2 separate regions of the Homo sapiens genome follow, and region 1 is linked to region 2. Evidence: promoter capture Hi-C in 16 types of primary human blood cells and fetal thymus (Javierre and others, 2016). All regions are on one chromosome and are shown on one strand. The core of a region is centred on a gene start or on the middle of the fragment in contact, and the rest is flanking DNA. Distances in the headings are between cores, read along the strand shown.

What was found. Contacts are between HindIII fragments. The CHiCAGO score rates a contact against its expected background, and 5 or more counts as called.
Region 1: a contact is called between a fragment that was not itself captured here and the fragment with the promoter of PGAM2 in region 2, in 1 of 17 cell types (endothelial precursors). The highest score is 5.5, in endothelial precursors.

Annotation. Positions count from the first base shown.
Region 1 is chr7:44,315,715-44,320,603 of GRCh38, reverse strand. The region is part of intron 1 of CAMK2B (calcium/calmodulin dependent protein kinase II beta); the gene reads left to right. Among named protein-coding and RNA genes, the nearest start is that of CAMK2B, 7.4 kb to the left of the region's middle. The HindIII fragment of the contact is 2,158 bases long and covers 1,801-3,958 here.
Region 2 is chr7:44,063,559-44,068,159 of GRCh38, reverse strand. PGAM2 (phosphoglycerate mutase 2) reads left to right here and starts at 2,593. Exons shown (of 3, transcript NM_000290.4): 1 at 2,593-3,044; 2 at 3,148-3,328. The coding sequence starts at 2,631. It overlaps DBNL (drebrin like), which reads right to left. Exons shown (of 13, transcript NM_001014436.3): 13 at 1-4,601. RefSeq lists a silencer at 1,577-1,646 and enhancers at 2,827-2,896, 2,957-3,006, 3,197-3,256, 3,901-4,010. The HindIII fragment of the contact is 4,752 bases long and covers 1-4,070 here.

The sequences.
Region 1 (4,889 bases), core at 1,630-4,129, 250 kb before region 2:
GCTTGCTACCAGGACTTTTCTTTTCTGGTAACAGTTGCTAGCGCTTAAATGGTGCTTATTATATTAACGCGCTAGATCTGTGAAGTAGGTACTGTAATCATCCCAAGTTTACAGGAGAGGTAGCTGAGGCACAGAGAAGCCCCATTCCCCAGGAAAGGTCACACAGGGTCAGGATTTGAATCCACATTCTGCTCCTCTCAGAAGCTCATTACCCTACTCTATTCTGTGCTTTAAAAATGCTGTGACTCCACTGGCTGACTCATGGCCAGCTTGTGGTCTACTCTGACCTGAGGCTTTTGGGCACCTGTCCTTGGCCGGCTGCTCACCATGATGTATTTGTGCTTTTCCAAACCAAGGGCCCCCTACCTCTAGGTTCCCCTTTGTGAAGATGTTACTTCGTTTCGTCATCAAAGACAACCAACACTCTGACTCCATATGACACCAGCAAGACTAGAAATTTTTATTTTATTAATTAAATTACCAGGGCAATATGATCTTGTAAAACACACACAGACACATACACACACACACCAAGTAATACAGAAGTACGTGCCGTAAAATGTGACTCCTTTACACTCAAGTTCCCTCACTCTCCAGAGGTACCTGGCCTCTTAATTTTAATGTCAGTATGAGGATATGTGTGTGTGTACATATATACACATCTACATATATAGCAGATATAGATGATTTCAAAACACAGATGGAATCACCATATATGTGATTCTGCAATCTGTTTGCCCAACACTTTCATGACGACCCCCCGTGTCAGTAAGTCTTTTCTTCAGCTAAGTGCCTTCCAATTCTTAGCAGAGAAATGTGTGCATACGCGTTGGCCACATTTTTTAAACCAAAAATTGGGACCCATCCTCTAGCAAGTGTGATGGGATATATAATAGGATGCTATATTTGAAATCAGGGCCTGAAAGGTCATTAGGAGGGCCCAACTGTTGTGAAGGAAAGCTGTGTTCTCAGCACGACCAGCTGCAGGGGCTGGGCCTGTGGAGGTGGGTGCAAGTGGACTCCTGCCGCGGTCAAAGGCCACAGGACTAAGGATGTCTCAGGTCTCACTTGAAAGAACTGAAGGACCTATTCCCATCTTTCCATCCCCCTTTTCTAGGAATCCCGAAGAGCAGAGGGGAGAGATATGCAATGTTTAGGTTTTGTATCTTCTACTTAAAAATTCTAACAGGGATGTTTCCCTCATTTTTGCTCCATTGGCCTTTAAAGAGTCTATATTGAGCCACCCTAGAATTTAACAGTAATTTACTAGAAGAGACCAGGTGGAGATAAGTGTGCAATGTCTGTCCCTGGGAAGACCACTCCCATTTCCCTGTGTTCCGTGATGCCACCTCCCTCATCCAGGCAAGAGATGTGGCCTTTCTGGAGATTTTAAATATATTTTCAAAAAATTTAATTCTCTCTCTCTTCCCCCACAAAAATTGAATCTGATTTGATTATTTTTAAAGCATCTTTTACAGCTGCAAGTCACTTTGTTAGTGTAGAAACATAAAAATGCATTATGTATCAACTTGGTTTTTAAAAAATTATCATATTGGCATATTACACAGATATGTATATTTTATTCATAGAAAAACTTGAATTTATTTAAAATGAAAACATCCTTTTATGTTAGAGAAAGGTGGTGTTGCTAGCTGCCAAACTTTTGGGTGGCTTTTGTCTCCTGGGTTAGAGGGTCACTTGTTGAGGGCTCAGTTCCTGGTGGACATAGTTCTTTTTGTATTGACATAATTATCCAAAAATAACTTAAGTTATGATTCTTTGTTAAGCCAGACAGAAGCTTTTGTTGAATTCTAGAACAGATTGGCAACAACCAGGCAAAGATTTAAGAAGATTTTATGGGAGGAAGCATAATGGCACACTTGTACAGGGTGGAATTTGGGACCCACAGTCCTTGTTTCCTCACTTTGTGAGCAGCAAGAGAAGCCTGGAGGGCAGGAGCTGCTGTCGCCCTTACAATGAAGTACTGCAGGTGTTATGCCTTTTGCTGTAATGCCCTCTGGGTGTCAAGCACATCCCAGTGAGTGCCGTTTCCAGCAAGGAGCTGAGGAGCCTTGATTCTGTCACCCAACACACCCTGAATTCAAGTGCTGAGAACAGTGCCTGGCACACAGTAGGTGCTCCACAGTGACTCAGCAATGGTCTGGGTCACTCAGGCCTTGCACCTGGGACTGCTTCCCAGAGCAGTGGCACACCCACCCTGTAAAAGATGAGGGCCTTATAAGAGGTATTGGGTGGCTCTGCAGGTAGGTCTTGCGGGTATTCTGATGTCCAGTCTGGGTAGACAGTCTTGTCACCCGGTGAAATGCAGTAGCAGGGCTGTCAGCACTTATATGTCTGTCATGGAGCTTGACTCCAAGAGGCTTGCAGCTTTCAGCTAATTTCTTAATGAGGTTGTTCACATGACTTCTTGTTTGTTGAGGTGCTGCCTGATTCTCAGCGTCTGTGAGTTTGATCCAGGCCATTAGTTAGGGGCTTTCTGGGCAAAGGGTAGGAGTCTGGTTAGGAGCAGGCCCTCCCAAAGAAGATGACCATGTGGTGGTTCTCAACCCCAACCACACATGGGAAGCCCCTGAGGAGTGTTCAGGCCCCATCGCATTTAGCCAGACACTAGGGAAATGGGGTATCAGCAGTTTTTAAAAGCTCCCAGGTGATTCCAATGGGCACTGCATACCTAGACTCTGCAGAGGAGTCTGCACCTGAGGCCAGACACTCGCCTAAGCCCACACTCCTTCATATAACCCTTGGTTCTTTCAGAGCCCACCTAGGCATGAATTTGAAGTTTACCTTCATTTTCTCTACATTCACAATGACATTACTACCCCACCGCCCACCCCATCCAAGTTGTCGAGAGCTGCATTGTCCAGAAGAGATAAAATGTGATACAAAGTTGAGCCATATGTGTGATTAAAAATTTTCTAGTACGTAAAGAAAAAAAAGAAACAGGTGAAAGGAACTTTAAAAATATATTTATTTAACTTTATATCCAAAATATCATTCAGAGGCCTGGTGCGGTGGCTCGTGCCTGTAATCCCAGCACTTTGGGAGGCCAAGGTGGGTGGATCACTTGAGCCCAGGAGTTAGAGACCGTGGGCAACATGGCAAAACCCCATCTGTACAAAAATTAAAAAATCATTTCAACATGTAATCAAAACAGAAATTATTAAGCTATTTTGCATTCCTTTTTGTACTACGTCTTGAAATCTGGTGTGTATTTTACCCTTACGGCACATCTCAGTTTGGACCAGGTTCTTATGACTACATGGTGACAGTGACCACAGTATTGGACAACACAGGGCCAGAGCTTCAAAATCACCATGCTTTTTTTTTTTTTTTTCATTTTTCCTGGTTTCTTTTAAGGATAATAGTTACAGTCATAGCTGTCTTAGTCTGTTCCAGATTTCTTTTGCTCTCCTGAAGACTTATTCATTTATTCAGCAAGTCTGGTTGCCTGTACTTACCATGTGCCATAGGTGCTTGGGAAACAGTAGTGAACAAAGCAGTCAAGGATGCCTGCCCTTAGGGAGCTTATATACTGCTGGATAGAGGCAGGCAATAAACATAAATACTAAAAAAATTATATGATAGGGTAGAAGGTGATTAATACCTCTGAGAATAATTAAGAAGACTCAGGAGTGCTAGTTAGGAGGAAGGTTATTATTATAAAAAGGATGGTAAAGCCAAGAAAAAAGAAGACTCCAATTGCTAAAATCAGGAATGACACAGGGGACCTTACTGCCAACCTTACAGAAAAAAAATTATAAGGAAATAACTATGAATAATTATGTGCCCTCAAGTTAGATAACCTGGATGAAATGGACAAATACTTAGAAAGACACAAACTACTGAATCTGGCTCAAGAAGAAATAGAAAATCTGAATAGACCTATAACAAGTAGAGACTGACTTAGTAATTTAAAATTTTCCCACAAAGGAAAGCTTAGGCTCAGATAATTTCACTGGTAAATCCTACCAAACATTTAAAGAAGAATTAATACCAGTCTTTTACAAGCTCCCCCAAAAAGTAGAAGAGGAGGAAATTCTTTCCAATTCATTCTGTGAAGCCAGCAATACCCTAATACCAAAACCAAAGATATCACAAAACTACAGACTGTTATCACTTATGAATGCAGATGAAGCATCCTCAACAAAACACTAGCAAAATAAATCTAGCAACATATAAAAAGGATTATTTATACATTATGAACAAGTAGGATGTATCCCAAGAATGAAAGGTTCATTCAGCATACAAAAATCAATCTATATAATACACCACGTTGATAGAACAAACATTGAAACTATATGAACCATTTCAATAGATGCAGAAAAAGCATTTAAAAAAAAACCAATACCATTTCATGATAAAAACTCAACAAATGACAAGTAGAAAGGAACTTCCTTAACTTGATAAAATACATTTGTGAAAAATCTGCAGCTAACCTCATATTTAATGGTGGAAAACTGAATGTATCTGCTCTTTCCATTTCTAGGCAGCACGGTATAGGAGATTCTAGCCAGGGCAATTAGGCAAGAAAAAGAGATAGAAGGCTCCCAGATTGGAAATAAATAGTTATAGCTACCTCTCTTTTCAGATTACATGCTTTCGTATATAGAAAATCCTAAGGAATCCATTTAAAAAACTATTAGAACTAAAAAATGAATTTAGCAAAGTTGCAAGATGTAAGACCAATATACAAAAATCCATTGTATTTCAATGGACTAGAAGTTCAAAATAACAAAATTAGGAAAAACAATTTACAATAGCATCTAAAAAATAAAACACTTAATACTAAATTTAATAAAAGAAGTACAAGACTTGTACATTGAAAACCACAAACCACTGTTGAGAGAAATTAAAGAAGACCTAAATTA
Region 2 (4,601 bases), core at 1,344-3,843:
CCCATGCTTTTGGGGCCATGGCTCCTCTAGACAGAGGGTAGCGTTACCCTCTCAGGTTTCAAGTGCGTACCCAGCTCACACTACCGTCACTGTGCCACCACTGCCACCTCCATGTTACTGCCCAGGAGCTGGGGTAGAGAAGAAAAGAAAAATTGGAGGGATTCCCCCAACTCACTGACTTCGAGGGGCTTCACATCCCACTCCTCTGATTCTTCCTGGAGCTCTTTCTGTTGGTGCACTTGAGGTTTCAAGCCGCCTGTGTGTCCAGGCTAGGCAATACTTGTTACCTCACCACTTCTCTGCGGAACTTTGAATCTGATCTCCTTTTCTTATCTGTCTACTGACAGCTGCTCCTGCATCTGTCCAGGATTGGTGGCTGTCAGTGGGAGAGACATGGGAAGATGCTCCCTCCACCTTCCTGGGACCACCTTGTTGACTCAGCAGCCTTCCTCGCCGCCCACCATGCTATGCCTTCCTGGATGGAGGCCCTGAGGGTGGCTTTTGGTTTTCCTACCCCTGTACCCCTCCAAGAAAGCTCTGGCACACTGCAGAGGCCAGCAACTACTTGTCAAATGAATCAAAGGAAAGTCAAGCCGGAGCCAAGGGTCAGAAGCAGGGGCTTGCTTCCCCGAAGTCCAGCCCTTCTTTGGGCTCCCCTTTCCTTTTTGACACCTCCTGCTTGGTTGGCAGTGAGGTCTCCCAGGTCTGGGGGATCCTTGCCACTGCTTCTGCACCCAGCCCTGGCTAAGCGGCCTTGTTCTCATCAAAGCTGCCGAGACCTGCAGGGTACTCAGCTTCTACTTCCACTCCTACACAGCTGCAAGTGACTTGAAAATATGACCATGCTTCAAAGTCTCCAGTGATTCCCACTGTGTTGGGACACAAAGCCCACCTCTCTGCCATGTGCCCCTGATGGTCGCTGCCCCAGCTTGTTTGCTTTCTGTAGGGCTTGGGTCTTTGCCAACCCCTCTACCTGAATTGCTCTCCCTGTAGGACTCATCATAGCTGAGGCCTTTGCACTCCGCTCTTTCCACTCACATGTCACCTCAGGGCTGTCCCCGGCCTCTCCTTTCCCATCTCTCCCAGTACATTATGGTCCTTCCTTCCTAGCATCTGGTGCTATCTACGGTAGGCATGTTTAGCTGCTGGTACGATCCCTCCTCCACTGAAATATGGGCTTCATGTCTGGCCCCTGTGGGACTGCCAGAGCCTGGTCCTCAGTCATGTTTAGTTGGGCTAGTGAATCAACTCTTGGTCAAAGGGACAAAAGCAGATGAGGAGATGTGGCTTCAATCAGGATCAGTGTGGAACAGTGAGACCTGCGCATGGCACTGCTAGGAGGGATGGGTTCCACCTGCCAGCCTTGGGGGTCCTGGCAGCCGACAGGACTTTGCCCACTGGGACTTGTCTGCCAACCTTTGGGTACAGAGCCTTAGCTTCACAGGCCCCAAGCCAGGAGCCCCTCCCCAGGTAGGCCAGCAGGGATGGAGGGAGGCCTGTCGAGGGTTTCTTGCACACTCAGATCCAAGTCTCAGAGTGGTGGTCCCTCTGCTGGCCTCTCACCTACCCGCTCCTGTTATCAGAAGTGTCGCAGGTGACAGTGTGGTCACTGGGGTGGGAGGAAATGGGAGGCCCTGGATGGGGCCCATGCCCAAGGGTCTGGCCATGGCCCCTTCATTAGGGCCCCAATTGTGACTTTATTGCTCATAGTCTCTTCCCTGCCTTGGTGGCTCTCATCCCCCAAACCTGAATGCAGAAGTCTTGGTCCTAGACTCAACTCCGTGCCACCCTTCAGCCTACGTTGTGGGTTCCTGCTAAGCTGAGCATTTACCTAACAATCAAGACTTCTGACAGTCCTCAGTCCTGCCCCCAAACCCCCTTGGATTTCTCTTTTTCAAGGTGGTTTCGGCTAGGAGAGTGAGCGTGGCTTGGGTGAGGGCAGATAGGGTGGGAGCATGGGGCATGTATGGATGAGACCTTGACAAAGGGACCCCGGAGGAAAGACAGGGGCCCTTTCCCCCTTTGTCCTGGAAACCCGGCTCAGCCCCAGCCCTTGCCCATTCTGCTGCTGCTGCCTGGTACCTTCCACAAGGCCAGACTCCTCTCCACAAAGCTGTGGTCTGCACCAGCTCCTCTGGCTCTCCTCCTCTGCCTGCTGAGGGCCGCCTCCTAGCCTGGCTGCCAATCACAGGAGAAAGGGGTTGGGATTTTGTTTGTGCCTCTGTCTGAGCAGAGAATGGCTGATAGGCCACTGAGCGTTGCCCTGGAGAGCCCCTCTGTCCCTGCTATCCCCATCTCCCCTGGCCCAGACTTCTGCCCTTCACGCCCATCCCTGACCAGCAGCCCCACTCAGTCTGGGCTCTGGGTGCCAGCTGGTTATAGACATGCCACCTGAACCCAGGCCAGGAGCTGGTGGATGCGTGGGGCTATTTTAAGCACAGCCTCTTGGCCTGCACACTCCCCTGGCCCCCAGCCCCCAGCAGCTCAGCTACTGGTCACCTGCCACCGCCTGGAATGCTGATTGGCAGTTGGCTGGGGTGGGTGGGGGCTGGGAAGACACTATTATAAAGCTGGGAGTGTTGGGAAGCAGCCGTCCCCGTCCAGAGTCCTCTGTGGTCCCTGCTGCCACCATGGCCACTCACCGCCTCGTGATGGTCCGGCACGGCGAGAGCACATGGAACCAGGAGAACCGTTTCTGTGGCTGGTTCGATGCAGAGCTGAGTGAAAAGGGGACCGAGGAGGCCAAGCGGGGAGCCAAGGCCATCAAGGATGCCAAGATGGAGTTTGACATCTGCTACACGTCAGTGCTGAAGCGGGCCATCCGCACCCTCTGGGCCATCCTGGACGGCACGGACCAGATGTGGCTGCCTGTGGTGCGCACTTGGCGCCTCAATGAGCGGCATTACGGGGGCCTCACAGGCCTCAACAAGGCAGAAACGGCCGCCAAGCACGGGGAGGAGCAGGTGAAGATCTGGAGGCGCTCCTTCGACATCCCGCCGCCCCCGATGGACGAGAAGCACCCCTACTACAACTCCATTAGCAAGGTGGGCTGCCTTTGCTGGGAAGGCCTCTGGGAAGCTGCAGAGTGGGGAGTCGGGTGGGGGCCCACTGGCTTGGGAGGGAAAGCAGCGTGCCTGTGTCCCCCAGGAGCGTCGGTACGCAGGCCTGAAGCCCGGGGAACTCCCCACCTGCGAGAGCCTCAAGGACACCATTGCCCGGGCCCTGCCCTTCTGGAACGAGGAGATTGTTCCCCAGATCAAGGCCGGCAAGCGAGTGCTCATTGCAGCCCACGGGAACAGCCTGCGGGGCATTGTCAAGCACCTGGAAGGTGAGGCCACCTTCAGGAGCCTGGGCAGGGTGGGTGGGCAGCAGCCCCAGCTGGCTTCTCATCTCAGCAAAGTCTCTCGCCCATGGACCAGGCTTTCTAGGCGTGGGGCTCCACATCATTCACTGAAAAAGGAGGGCTGAGAAGCCATTTTTTAGTTTTGTGAAATTTTCCCCATTTCTGTGTAACTGGGACACACTCCACAGGGGCTGACTGCACTCGAAGCTCGCTGTGTCCCGAGGTGGGGCAGGCTCCAAAGGTGGCATCTGCCAAGGGACACCCAGCTAGGAAACGGAAGGGCTGGGCTTAGAGCATCTGGCTCCAAATCCCAACTTACTGTGGGGCCCTGGACAAGCCACCTCCATCTCTGGGCCTCTCCCTTTTCCGGGGTGGTGGGGAGCTCCCCCTGGTACTGAATTCCTCTTGATGTAGGCTTGGACCCCTCGCAGGGCCCTCCCCCATCAGGTCCTCAGAATCCCTGCATGAGCTTCACCACCTATCTCCCTCTGGAGCCCCTCTCTGGGCAAAGGAAAGACCAATCAAAAGAGGGGTGCAGGACTATGGAGTGGCCAGACTCTGGGCTTGCAGCTGGGCTCCCACTGAAGAGCAAGGGCTGACAAATGGGCCCGGGATGCATGGGCGCAGTAAGGCCTCGCCCAGAGTGACTGGCACCTCCGCTCCGCCTCCCACCTTAGTATTCTGACACAAGGGCAGTCTAAATTAGCATCTGAATGACCTTAAAGCTTGTTGAGTCCTGGAAAGGCTAGAAGGGTGTGCCCCAGACCTCCTGCTCCTAGGGCCGTTGGGCAGTTGGCCAGAGCACCCAGACCGGCAGGCCCCGGAGACCCAGCCAGCCCCAAGCCTGCCCGCTCCAAACACGGACACCTGGCACCTGGCACTGGGGCCAGGCAGAGGGAAGGACCACCTGCCTCCTCTCCCTTCCGGAGACTTCATGCAGCCCCATGACCCTCCCACAGCCTGGTTTGGGGAAAGGGGACGCACTTTTGGTGGTGAATATGAGGGATTTCACTCTGACTCCCCAGAGAACATTTTCTTAAACCCTCCTGCACGGAGCAGGGGTGGAGTGGCGCGAACATCAAAGGTCGAGCTGCTATTCCCAGCTCAGGGGCTGCAGGAGGCAGGCAGGGTCAGGTTTCGACCAGGCTCGGCCTCCCTGTCCCTCCTCCAGCTCCATTCCGCACTTGCTCCTCTGTTCAGGATGTCTAGAATTTAGAGCACTTTAGAAACCAAAGGGTGCTGGGCACGGTGGCTCACT